2 separate regions of the Homo sapiens genome follow, and region 2 is linked to region 1. Evidence: promoter capture Hi-C in human tissues and cell types (Jung and others, 2019). All regions are on one chromosome and are shown on one strand. The core of a region is centred on a gene start or on the middle of the fragment in contact, and the rest is flanking DNA. Distances in the headings are between cores, read along the strand shown.

Evidence for each region. Contacts are between HindIII fragments. The study calls those that stand out against the background at their distance.
Region 2: a fragment that was not itself captured here is called in contact with the fragment with the promoter of MYOC in region 1 in 1 of the 25 tissues and cell types used here (pancreas).

What each region holds. Positions count from the first base shown.
Region 1 is chr1:171,651,112-171,656,623 of GRCh38, forward strand. It overlaps MYOC (myocilin), which reads right to left and starts at 1,577. Exons shown (of 3, transcript NM_000261.2): 1 at 897-1,577. The coding sequence starts at 1,500. The HindIII fragment of the contact is 9,045 bases long and covers 1-5,512 here.
Region 2 is chr1:171,595,113-171,600,111 of GRCh38, forward strand. No RefSeq gene overlaps it. Among named protein-coding and RNA genes, the nearest start is that of MYOCOS, 25 kb to the right of the region's middle. The HindIII fragment of the contact is 5,166 bases long and covers 829-4,999 here.

The DNA.
Region 1 (5,512 bases), core at 327-2,826:
TCTCTTTAATATAGAACAAGCCCTTCCCCACCCCTTTTTTCTTTCTTCCTTGGCACTGACATCTTTGACCAGTCCAAACTAATTGTCCAACAACTGGATTTGCTTGCTTATTTCCTCATGATTAGAACACTTCCTCAACAGGGAATATTTGGGAGCCCACTTTCACAAAAAGTGACACAAATACCATCTTCCCAGCTAATAAGAAGACCTCCCCCAACACCTCACCCCCGCACCCCCCCCACACACACACAGACTCACCTTTAGGCAAGAAGGGACCAGGATGAACAGAAGAGCCTCTCAGAAAAAGCCATCTCAAGAATTTGTCTGATGACTTAAAAGCAGAGGTTCTCAGATTGGACTGAGTAAGAAAACTTTCAGAACAACATATTAAGAAAACTGACAGAGAGGTGCCATCTCTTTATTTTGCCAGGGAAGAACATTTAAAAATAAACAAAAACTTACCACTTATTATCATTTCCCAAATCTATTGTAATTTCATAAATAAAGGTCATTTTAACATCAAAAGGTACAAATAACAATCTGAGCAAAGGTTCAAAAAAGGATAGTTTTTCAAAAGGGACAATTGACAACTTTCTACTGCTCATATGCAGACACATCTCACCCGGTCCTTTTATTTCTCCTTTTGCTATGGACTGTGAAAACTGACATGGAGGGGCACAAGAACTCTGAACCACTAATCTAAATGAAGCTCTCAGGAGCTAAATTACTAGTAATACTTGAAGGTGATCGCTGTGCTTTCCTTAATTCATCTGTCTTGTGCTAGCTGTGCAGTCTCTAGGAGAAAGGGCAGGCAGGGAGGCCTGGAGCGCCTGTAGCAGGTCACTACGAGCCATATCACCTGCTGAACTCAGAGTCCCCCCACTCTGCATTCTTACCTTCTCTGGAGCCTGGTGGCACAGCCCGAGCAGTGTCTCGGGTCTGGGGACACTGGCCCCTTCTCAGCCTTGCTACCTCCTGGCTGCTGCTTTCCAACCTCCTGGCCAGATTCTCATTTTCTTGCCTTAGTCGCTTCTTCTCTTCCTCCAGAACTGACTTGTCTCGGAGGAGGTTGCTGTAGGCAGTCTCCAACTCTCTGGTTTGGGTTTCCAGCTGGTCCCGCTCCCGCCTCAGGGTGCCCAGCTCCCTCTGCAGCCCCTCCTGGGTCTCCTGGGGCCTGGCAGCCTGGTCCAAGGTCAATTGGTGGAGGAGGCTCTCCAGGGAGCTGAGTCGAGCTTTGGTGGCCTCCAGGTCTAAGCGTTGGGTGCTGCTGTCTCTCTGTAAGTTATGGATGACTGACATGGCCTGGCTCTGCTCTGGGCAGCTGGATTCATTGGGACTGGCCACACTGAAGGTATACTGGCATCGGCCACTCTGGTCATTGGCCTTCCTGAGCTGAGCTGTCCTGGCCCCCACATCCCACACCAGGCAGGCCAGAAGCAGCAGCTGGACAGCTGGCATCTCAGGCCCAAAGCTGCAGCAACGTGCACAGAAGAACCTCATTGCAGAGGCTTGGTGAGGCTTCCTCTGGAAAGCTCTGCTGTGCTGAGAGGTGCCTGGATGGGTGGCCTTGCTGGCTCATGCCCGAGCTCCAGAGAGGTTTATATATACTGGGGAGCCAGCCCTTCATGGGGGAAGACAGAGGTGGCCACGTGAGGCTGGGTGGGGCTGTGCACAGGGGGGTTGCCTTCACGCTGCCAGCAAGATTCTTAGAAAATAACCTTCCAGAAGTCTGTTTGGAGTTTCTTTTTAAAAAGAACATCCCAATTTATGCACCCATACCCCAATAATAGTTCCTATATCTCCACCTGGTTTTACACACACACACACACACACACACACGTACACACACTTACACCAGGACTACTGGTGTGCTGATTTCAACAAGGATATATTTCTAGTTTATATTTCCATTCACTCTGCAAACTCATTGAGAACCTGCACTGTGCCAGGCACTATGCTAGGAACTGGAGATCCAAACAAGTCCTTTAAGACGTAGCAGGGACAGAGAAAAATAACAGCCAGCCAGAACACAAGGACAGCACCCTACCAGGCTCCAGGGAGAGCATTCCTATAGAAGCGGCAGATTTCCCCCCTCACCCCTAGCTTTAAAACAACTGTGTATCTTTGGGAGAACTTTCTAATTTCAGTCTTGCATCTCAGGCACCAATGTCAATGTTAGCCTCTAAATCAGTTCTTACTCTGTGTGTGTGCATGCCAAGAACCTCATTGGTGAAATCTGGGGAACTCTTCTCAGAAAGATGTTTTCAAATATATAAAATATAGATTACAAAGGAAACAAATGATAATGAAATATGATTATCAAAATATCAAAATTTTAAACATGTTTTATTAATATGTTAAAAACAAGATCCAGCAGGAGGTCTAATTTCAAAGTAGTTTTGAGTATAAATATTTCACTTACAACGTATCTGCAACAACTGTAATATAGTATAAAATGTCTGTGATTTCTATTGGTAATGACAAAATCACAGGTACTGTTATTACCACTTTGAGTTTATGGCTCTATTCGCAATGGAATAAAATGTTAAATTTAGTTAGAAGGTGGTAAAAACAAAAATGTAATTTTTTCCTCATTCAAATTCACAGGCTTTCTGGACTGTAGGTTAATAATCCCTGCTTTACATTAATAAACCCAAAGAGAAAAAACAAAAAGCAAATGGCAATAGCCAATAAATATACCAAAACTGTCAGAAGTAACTTTAAGCCACTTGAAATAATGATTGCCTTTGAGCAACTTTATGTTGTTAATACCAACAACAGTGTCAATACTTGTGAAGTAAATATTTCCAAACTGCCCTGGCAGACTCACCTCCAGAGTGGAGAAACACAGTTTGCTCTAAAGATTCTATTCTTATTTGATTGGTTCTGCAGTTAAGCCTGAACTTGAGACATTTACAAATGGGTGTTTGTTTACAGCTGACCAAAGGGTACTAGTCTCATTTTCTGAATCAGATAGTAAACATCGCTGAAATGATTTTTCAAAAAACCAATCATATAGTCAGCAAGACCTAGGCTTGAATCTGTTTGGCTTTACTCTTAGGAATGTTTTCTTCCTGTTAAAAGAAACGGGATTGCCCTTGTGCTGCTAACTCCACAGAGAAAAAGAGTTCCTAATAAGGAGAAACTAAGTAATCTTACAGCCTCAGTTACTACCTTGTGACTTGCTCAGAATTACTCAGCTTGTAAAGGAAAAATATAGTATTAGAAATCAGGTCTCCCGACTTCCCTTGAACTGATTTTTTCCCCCCACAATATAGCCCTGCCTCCTAGAACCCAGGATCACGTGGACTATAATCCCTGTGGTCAATTCCCACTGCCCTTGAATGAATCTGTCTTTCTTGCTCATACACTATCCCTCTCTTTTTCTTCTCCTCCCCTGCGCTGCAGGTCACTCCGTGCTGTCAGCAGTCACTGCTGAGCTGCGTGGGGTGCTGGTCAGGGTGAAAAGTTTAACAATCTCTGGCATTTTCCACTTGCTCTGGCCCAGTTTTTGAATGCCAGGCAAAAGCTACCACCAGTTAGTCTCTGCATTCTTTTTGGTTATTGGCAAATGCCATTGTCTATGCTTAGGGAAGGAAAATGTGGCTGTTGGGTTCATTGAGCTTTCCTGAAGCATTGTGGCTCTCGGTCCTGGAGTCTGACGTGATCAGTGAGGACTGATGGAGCACCCAGCTTCTGCCTGCCTTCCTGTCCCCCTCCACCTCCCCTGTGGCTCAGCTGCTCCAGCTCTGCCTCCTTCCCCTCTCAACATCCCCCCTCACAGAGAATCACAGGGAAGTGTTCACAGAACACGAGAGCTGCAAGGGTCTTTATAGCAGAGAAGACTATGGCCCAGGGAAGGAGAGACACTTGCCCACGGTCGCACAGCCAACCAATGGCAGAACCAGAAAGAAAACCGAGTCTCCTGATTCCAAGGTTTTCGACCGTCTTGCATAAGCCAAGTCCACCACAGGGCTGAGTAGTTGCCCAGAAGACATGAAAGAAAAGACTCCAGTCACTTCTTCCGTGAATTAACGGCCTAGGAAATGAGCTCGCTTCCTATATTCCCATTAAATAAAGGCCTTCGTGAAGGAAAACCCATGCACACCCTGGAATTTTAACAGCTGACTTTATGAAACTGCATCCCTTCATGAAATAGACTTCTTCTCCTCCAAGCAGAGAAAAGATAAAAAGGCTCACAGGAAGCAACGGAAAACTCCCAGCCCCGTGAACAACACTGAACATCTGGGCAGCTTCAGCCTTGCCCTTTTCACCTTCCTGCCTTTCAGCACCCGCTCAGCCCCAGCGTCCCCACTCCCTGCAGTCCCCACCTCCTGGAATTCTCCTGGACGTGGAGGCCCCTTTCCCTCTGAGGAAACACTGTCCCCTCCAGATTCTCCGTTAGACTAGTTTCCCTCTCCATTTCCTTTCTGGAGCCTGGAGCCAAGGAGTCTCCAGCTCAGATGCACCAGGACGATTCACGGGAAGCGAGGCAGGCCAGCTGCAGCGCTGTGACTGATGGAGGAGGAGGCTTGGAAGACTCGGGCTTGGGGGCCTCCGGGCACGATGGAGGCAGCAGGGGGCGCTAGGGAGGTGGCCTTGTTAAGGGATGCTGCGCACAATTCTTCAAGATGGTGTTTATTTCCTTTCTTTCAGCACTGGGTTTAAGTTGGCTGGCTATTAATTTTCTTCTGCACGTCTTCCATGAGAAACTGTCACCTCCACGAAGGTAGGGCAGTGACTGCTTTGCTCACCATTTTGTCTCTGGTGTCTGGCAGATATAAGTACTCAATAAATTGTCAATGAATGCCTGGATGAATGAACGAGTCACACAGAAATAGAAAGCAACAGGTCCCTAGAGAGTGATAACAAAACAACCAGTGGCACGGGCTGGCAGGTTGCTCAGGACACCCAGGACCCCGGGTGCTTGCAGGGCTCCCCCAGCTGGAGAGGAAACCTCTGCCGGGGGCTTCAAGGAGTCTCTGGGGTATGCCCTCCTCCCCTATACACACACACAGATGGCCCCAAATGGAACTAGTTTATGTATACTCTTATTTCAGTAACGATGTGGAGGCTTACCACAAAAGCATGGTGAATAAAATGGTAACTTAGCCTGAAAATGAGGATGAGGGAAGAAAGTGATGAGGACCAGTGGTCTGGGACTAGGCAGGCAGCTCATGGCACCATTCCCCATCCCAAGAATCCCTGAAATTATCACAGCTTTTGTCTGTTTCCCTGTTGGTTTAGTAAACCATTCAAGTTATTCCTTATTAAACACTGACCCTTGGCCGGGCGCGGTGACTCATGCCTGTAATCCCAGCACTTTAGGAGGCTGAGGTGGGTGGATCACCTGAGGTCAGGAGTTCAAGACCAGCCGGGCTAATATGGTGAAACCCCATCTCTACTAACAATACAAAAATTAGCCGGGCGTGCGCCTGTAGTCCCAGCTACGCGGGAGGCTGAGACAGGAGAATTGCTTGAACCTGGGAGGCAGAGGTTGCAGTGAGCTCAG
Region 2 (4,999 bases), core at 2,162-4,661, 54 kb before region 1:
GACCAGCTATACAGCTTGCATTACCCCCACTTGCAAACCAGCAGGCATGTGCTATTTGGTTGTATTAACTGTTAAAATACCACTAATACTTTGGGTCCTTCGCTAGAACCTACAATGGAAAAATGGCACCAAAAGCATATCGAATGAAAGTAAGATAATGTATATAAGTGTCTCTGCAGTTGGCCATGTAGTTTTGTCCATGGCTTCTCTGACATGTGACAGAATAACCCAAAAGGTTTTGCAGTTAATAGTTGACTGTAGATACTTGGTCACATAAGCTTCTGAACATTGTCCCTGAGCTGCCCTGGTAGAAGGTAAGGGGAGTCCAGGTCCTTGCCCCTAGTTAATAACAAATAGTGCTTATGATAGAAGAGTGATTGGGGGAGGAGGGTTGGGGAATGAGAGGAGGGTATAGTTTATAAAGTTCTAACAAACTCTTGGCCAGAGGCAAGATACAGAGGGCAGAATGAGTCAGAAGCTATTTAAGTGTCTTTTCTAACAAGTAACCCGTGATTTTTCATGTTACCACTGCAGCATATTTCACAGATGCTTACCATTTTCAGTACTGACTTCACATGCCCCTGCAACTTTTTTCCACCTTATGGATAAATATAAAACTATATTATAGTTTGACAGACCTAATTATTTTGTAGGTGCTTTAGAAGTAGAAGAACTAGGATTGGTGGTTGGTCAGTTAAAATGGAAAGTCACAAAGTCTAGATACTTTGATTGCTTGTATTAGATGTATGCTTATTTTCCATACAATCTTTTAATGAAGGACTACACCATTTCTTTGAGATGTCTGCTGCCTAGATTCTATTACATATGCATCATATATAGTTTTCAGTTTTGTCTTAAAGAAATCTGAATAGAGAATTCCCTTGAACTTTCACAGATACCTTCCCTCAGTTTTCCAGCTTTCTTCATACCCCTAATTTGACCACAGTTTTTACAGTAAAAATTGTAGAAATCAAGTAATATTGACAACCACCTACTAGCTAATAGTCATCAGTCAACTTATATTACCTTGGAAGTGGTTAAATAGAGTTTGGTTAAGAGCCACAAATTTACTTCATATTGTAATGTAATTATTTTTTTAAAAACTTCCCTCAACAGAAAGGAATAATGTGCTACAGGAAAAGGAAAACTTACCTGAGGTAGAGAGTTTAAGCAAGAGGTGAATCTGGTGTAATCAGGCAAGGAGTCAAGTATTAACTCTGTATGTGTCAGGTGCTGGGAATATAGAGGACAGTTTCTTAACACAGTCTGGGGTGTAGGTGGAGATACATGGGGTGGCTTTGAGGCCTTTCAGGTTTTCATCACTGATAGATACCTAGCCCTTATTTCATGGATGCCTCAAACCCCATTTTCCAGTCTAAGCTTTCGCCCCTAATCTATTTGCCTGTACTGCATAACCTTCTAAATATGATTAAAATCTTCCAGAAGTTTTTAGTCAGCCCTGATCTGGCCTTCTCACCATTTCTTCACATACTAGCTAATATTTAATAAGTAGAATTATGTGTAAATTTGGGTCTTCCTGGTATATGAGCAAAAAAAGCAATAGTTTCCTTATCTGAGCTGAAAAAGACACTAATGTTCAGTGGAGAACAGAGGAAGAGAATTCCAATAAGCAGAGCCTGTGGTTCCAGGTGAATAAGTCTTAAGTTCAAGGATGGTGTAGAGGGACAGAGATGCATTCTGGCCCTCCAGGGTTAGATTTGTCAAGAGGCGAAATAGTTAATTTCAGACAGTTCTCTGGAACTGATGTAATCTGGTTTACTTAGGGCAGTGGTTTTCAGATTGGAAGTACACACTATTAAACAGAAGCAATTCCACTTTAAAATTTTGCTTGGCTAAAGGATTCAGTGGCTATTTTTTTTTTTTTTTTAATTACCAATGTGAATAAGGTTTATTGGTTCCGGGGAGGAGACACCCTCTCTAGTATGAGAAGCTGCAAAGAAGGTTGTACTTGGAGTAAAAACCACACTCTTCACAGAAGCTGATCGTGATACCCATTGAGGAGACTGATTGGGCCTCAGCTTTCTATAACCTGGGAATATAAATGGGTGTTATAAAGTTTCGTGTTACATGACTCAGTTATCAGAATTGTATCTCCAGCTTAGAACCTTACAGGGAAAAACTGGAAATTACACATAAATATCACCCACTTGCCCCCTCCACCCCCCAACTTTATAAGGTAGGTAATATTATTTACACATGCAGAGAATGAGGTGTGGTAACCTGCCCAATGATACACAGTAAGCAGAGGAGGCAGGGTTTTTTGGTCCAGACAGTCTAATTCTTAAGTGTAAGCTCTTTACTAAGCTGCACTGTTGTGAAAGCACTGTACTTGAAGTTACAGGCATACCTTGTTTTACTGCACTTTGCAGATATTGCAAGATTTTTTCTTCAAAATAACGAAGGTTTGTGGCAACCCCATGTTGAGCAAGTTCATTAGTGCTATTTTCTAACAGTGTGTGCTCATTTCCTGTCTGTGTCACATTTGATAACTCTTAAAATTATTTCAGGCTTAAATTATCATGTTATGGTGATCCGGGATCTTGAATGTTACTAGTGTAATTTGGAGCCTCATGAACCACACCCATACGATGGTGAACATAAATGCACGTGTTCTGATTGCTCCACAAACAGGCTGTTCCCTCTCTCCGTCTCCTTAGGCCTCTGTATTCCCGGAGACACAACATTGAAATTAGGCCAATTAATAGCCCTACAGTGGCCTCTAAGTGTTCAAGTAAAAGGAAGAGTCGCACGTCTCAGTTTAAATCAAAAGCTGAAAATGATTAAGCTTAATGAGGAAGGCATGGCAAAATCTGAGATGGGCCAGAAAGATAGGCTTCTTGGGCCCATTAGACAAGTTGTGAATGCAAAAGATAAATCTTGAAGGAAATTAAAAGTGCTACTCCAGTGACTACACAATGATAAGAAAACAAAAGAACCCTATTTCTGATATAAAGTTTTAGTGGTCTGGATAAAAGATTGAAACAGGCCCAACATTCTCTTAAGCCAAAACCGTATCCAGAGCAAAGCCGTAACTCCAATTCCGTGAAGTCAGAGAGGTGAAGAAGTTGTGGAAGAAAAGTTTGAAGCTAGCAGAGGCTGGTTCATGAGATTTAAGGAAAACACCCATCTCCATAACATTAAAGTGCAAAGTGAAGCAGCAAGAGTTGATGTACGAACTGCAGCAAGTTGTCTGGAAGATCTAGCTGAGATAATTGATGAAGGGGCTATGCTAAATAGCAAGTATTTAAGGTAGACAAAATAGCCTTCTATTGGAAGCAGATGCCATCTAGGCCTTTCATAGGCTAGAGAGAAGTCAATGCCTGGCTTCAAAGCTTCAAAAAAGACTGACTTGTGAGGGGTTTATGCAGCTGGTGACTTTAAGCTGAAGCCAATACTCATTTACCATTTCGAAAATCCTAGGGCCCTTAAAAATTAAGCTAAATCTACTCTGCCTGTGCTCTAGAAATAGAACAGCAAAGCATGGATGACAGCACATCTCTATAGCATAACGCATCTAATATTTTAAACCCACTGTTGAGACCTATTGCTCAGGGACGGAAAAAACCTAAAGCTTTCAAAATATGATAAGCTCATTGACAATGCACCTAGTCACTCAAGAGTTGTGATGGAGATGTACAAGAAGATTGATGTTTTCATGCCTGCTAACATGACATCCATTCTACAACCTATGGATCAAAGAGTAATTTTGACTTTCAAGTCTTATTTAAGAAATATTAGGCCAGACGCGGTAGATCACGCTTGTAATCCCAGCACTTTGGGAGGCCGAGGCGGGCAGATCATGAGGTCAGGAGTTCGAGACCAGCCTGGCCAACATGGTGAAACCCCGTCTCTTCTAAAAGTACAAAAAAAAAAAAAATCCAGGCATGGTGGCACATGCTTGTAATCCTAGCTACTCAGGAGGCTGCGGAAGGAGAATTGCTTGAACCTGGGAGGTGGAGGTTGCAGTGAGCTGAGATTGTGCCACTGCACTCCAGCCTGGGTGACAGAGTGAGACTCTGTCTCAGAAAAGAATATATATATATTAATACGTTTTGTAAAGCTACAACTTTCGTAAATAGTGAGTCCTCTGATGAATCTGGGCAAAGAAATTGAAAGCCATATGAAAGGATTTACCATTCTAGATGCCATTAATAACATTTGTGGTTCATGGGAGGATGTCAGAATATCAACAACAAATAGGAGTTTGGAAGAAGTTTTATTCCAACCCTCATGGAGCCCTAGGGGATTCAAGACTTCAATAGAGGAAGTAAATGCAGATGTGGTGGAAATAGCAAGAGAGGTAGAGTTAGAAGTGGAGCCTGAAGGTGGGACTGAATTGCTGCAATCTCATGATCAAACTTGAACAGATGAGGAGTTGCTTCTTATGGATGAGCAAAGAAAGTGGTTTCTTGTGATGGAACCTTATCCTTGTGAAGATGCTGTGTATGTTGTTGAAATGACAAGAATTTAGAATTTTACACAAACTCAGTTAATAAAGCAGTGACAAGGTTTGAGGCGACTGACTCCAACTTTGGAAGAAGTTCTACTGTGGCTAAAATGATATCAAACAGCATCACGTGGTACAGATAACTCATTCATGAAAGGAAGAGTCAATTGATGTGGCAAACTTCATTGGCTTATTTGAAGAAATTGCCACAGCCACCCTGGTCTTCAGCAACCACCACCTTGATTAGGCAGCAGCCACCAACATCAAGGCAAGATTCTCCACCAACAAAAAGATATAACTTGGTTGGGCGCAGTGGCTCACGCCTGTAATCCCAGCACTTTGGGAGGCTGAGGCAGGCGGATCACCTGAGGTCCGGAGTTCCAGACCAGCCTGACCAACCTGGAGAAACCCCGTCTCTACTAAAAATAACAAAATTAGCCAGGCGTGGTGGTGCATGCCTGTAATCCCAGCTACTCAGGAGGCTGAGGCAGGAGAATCGCTTGAACCCAGGAGGCAGAGGTTTCCGTGAGC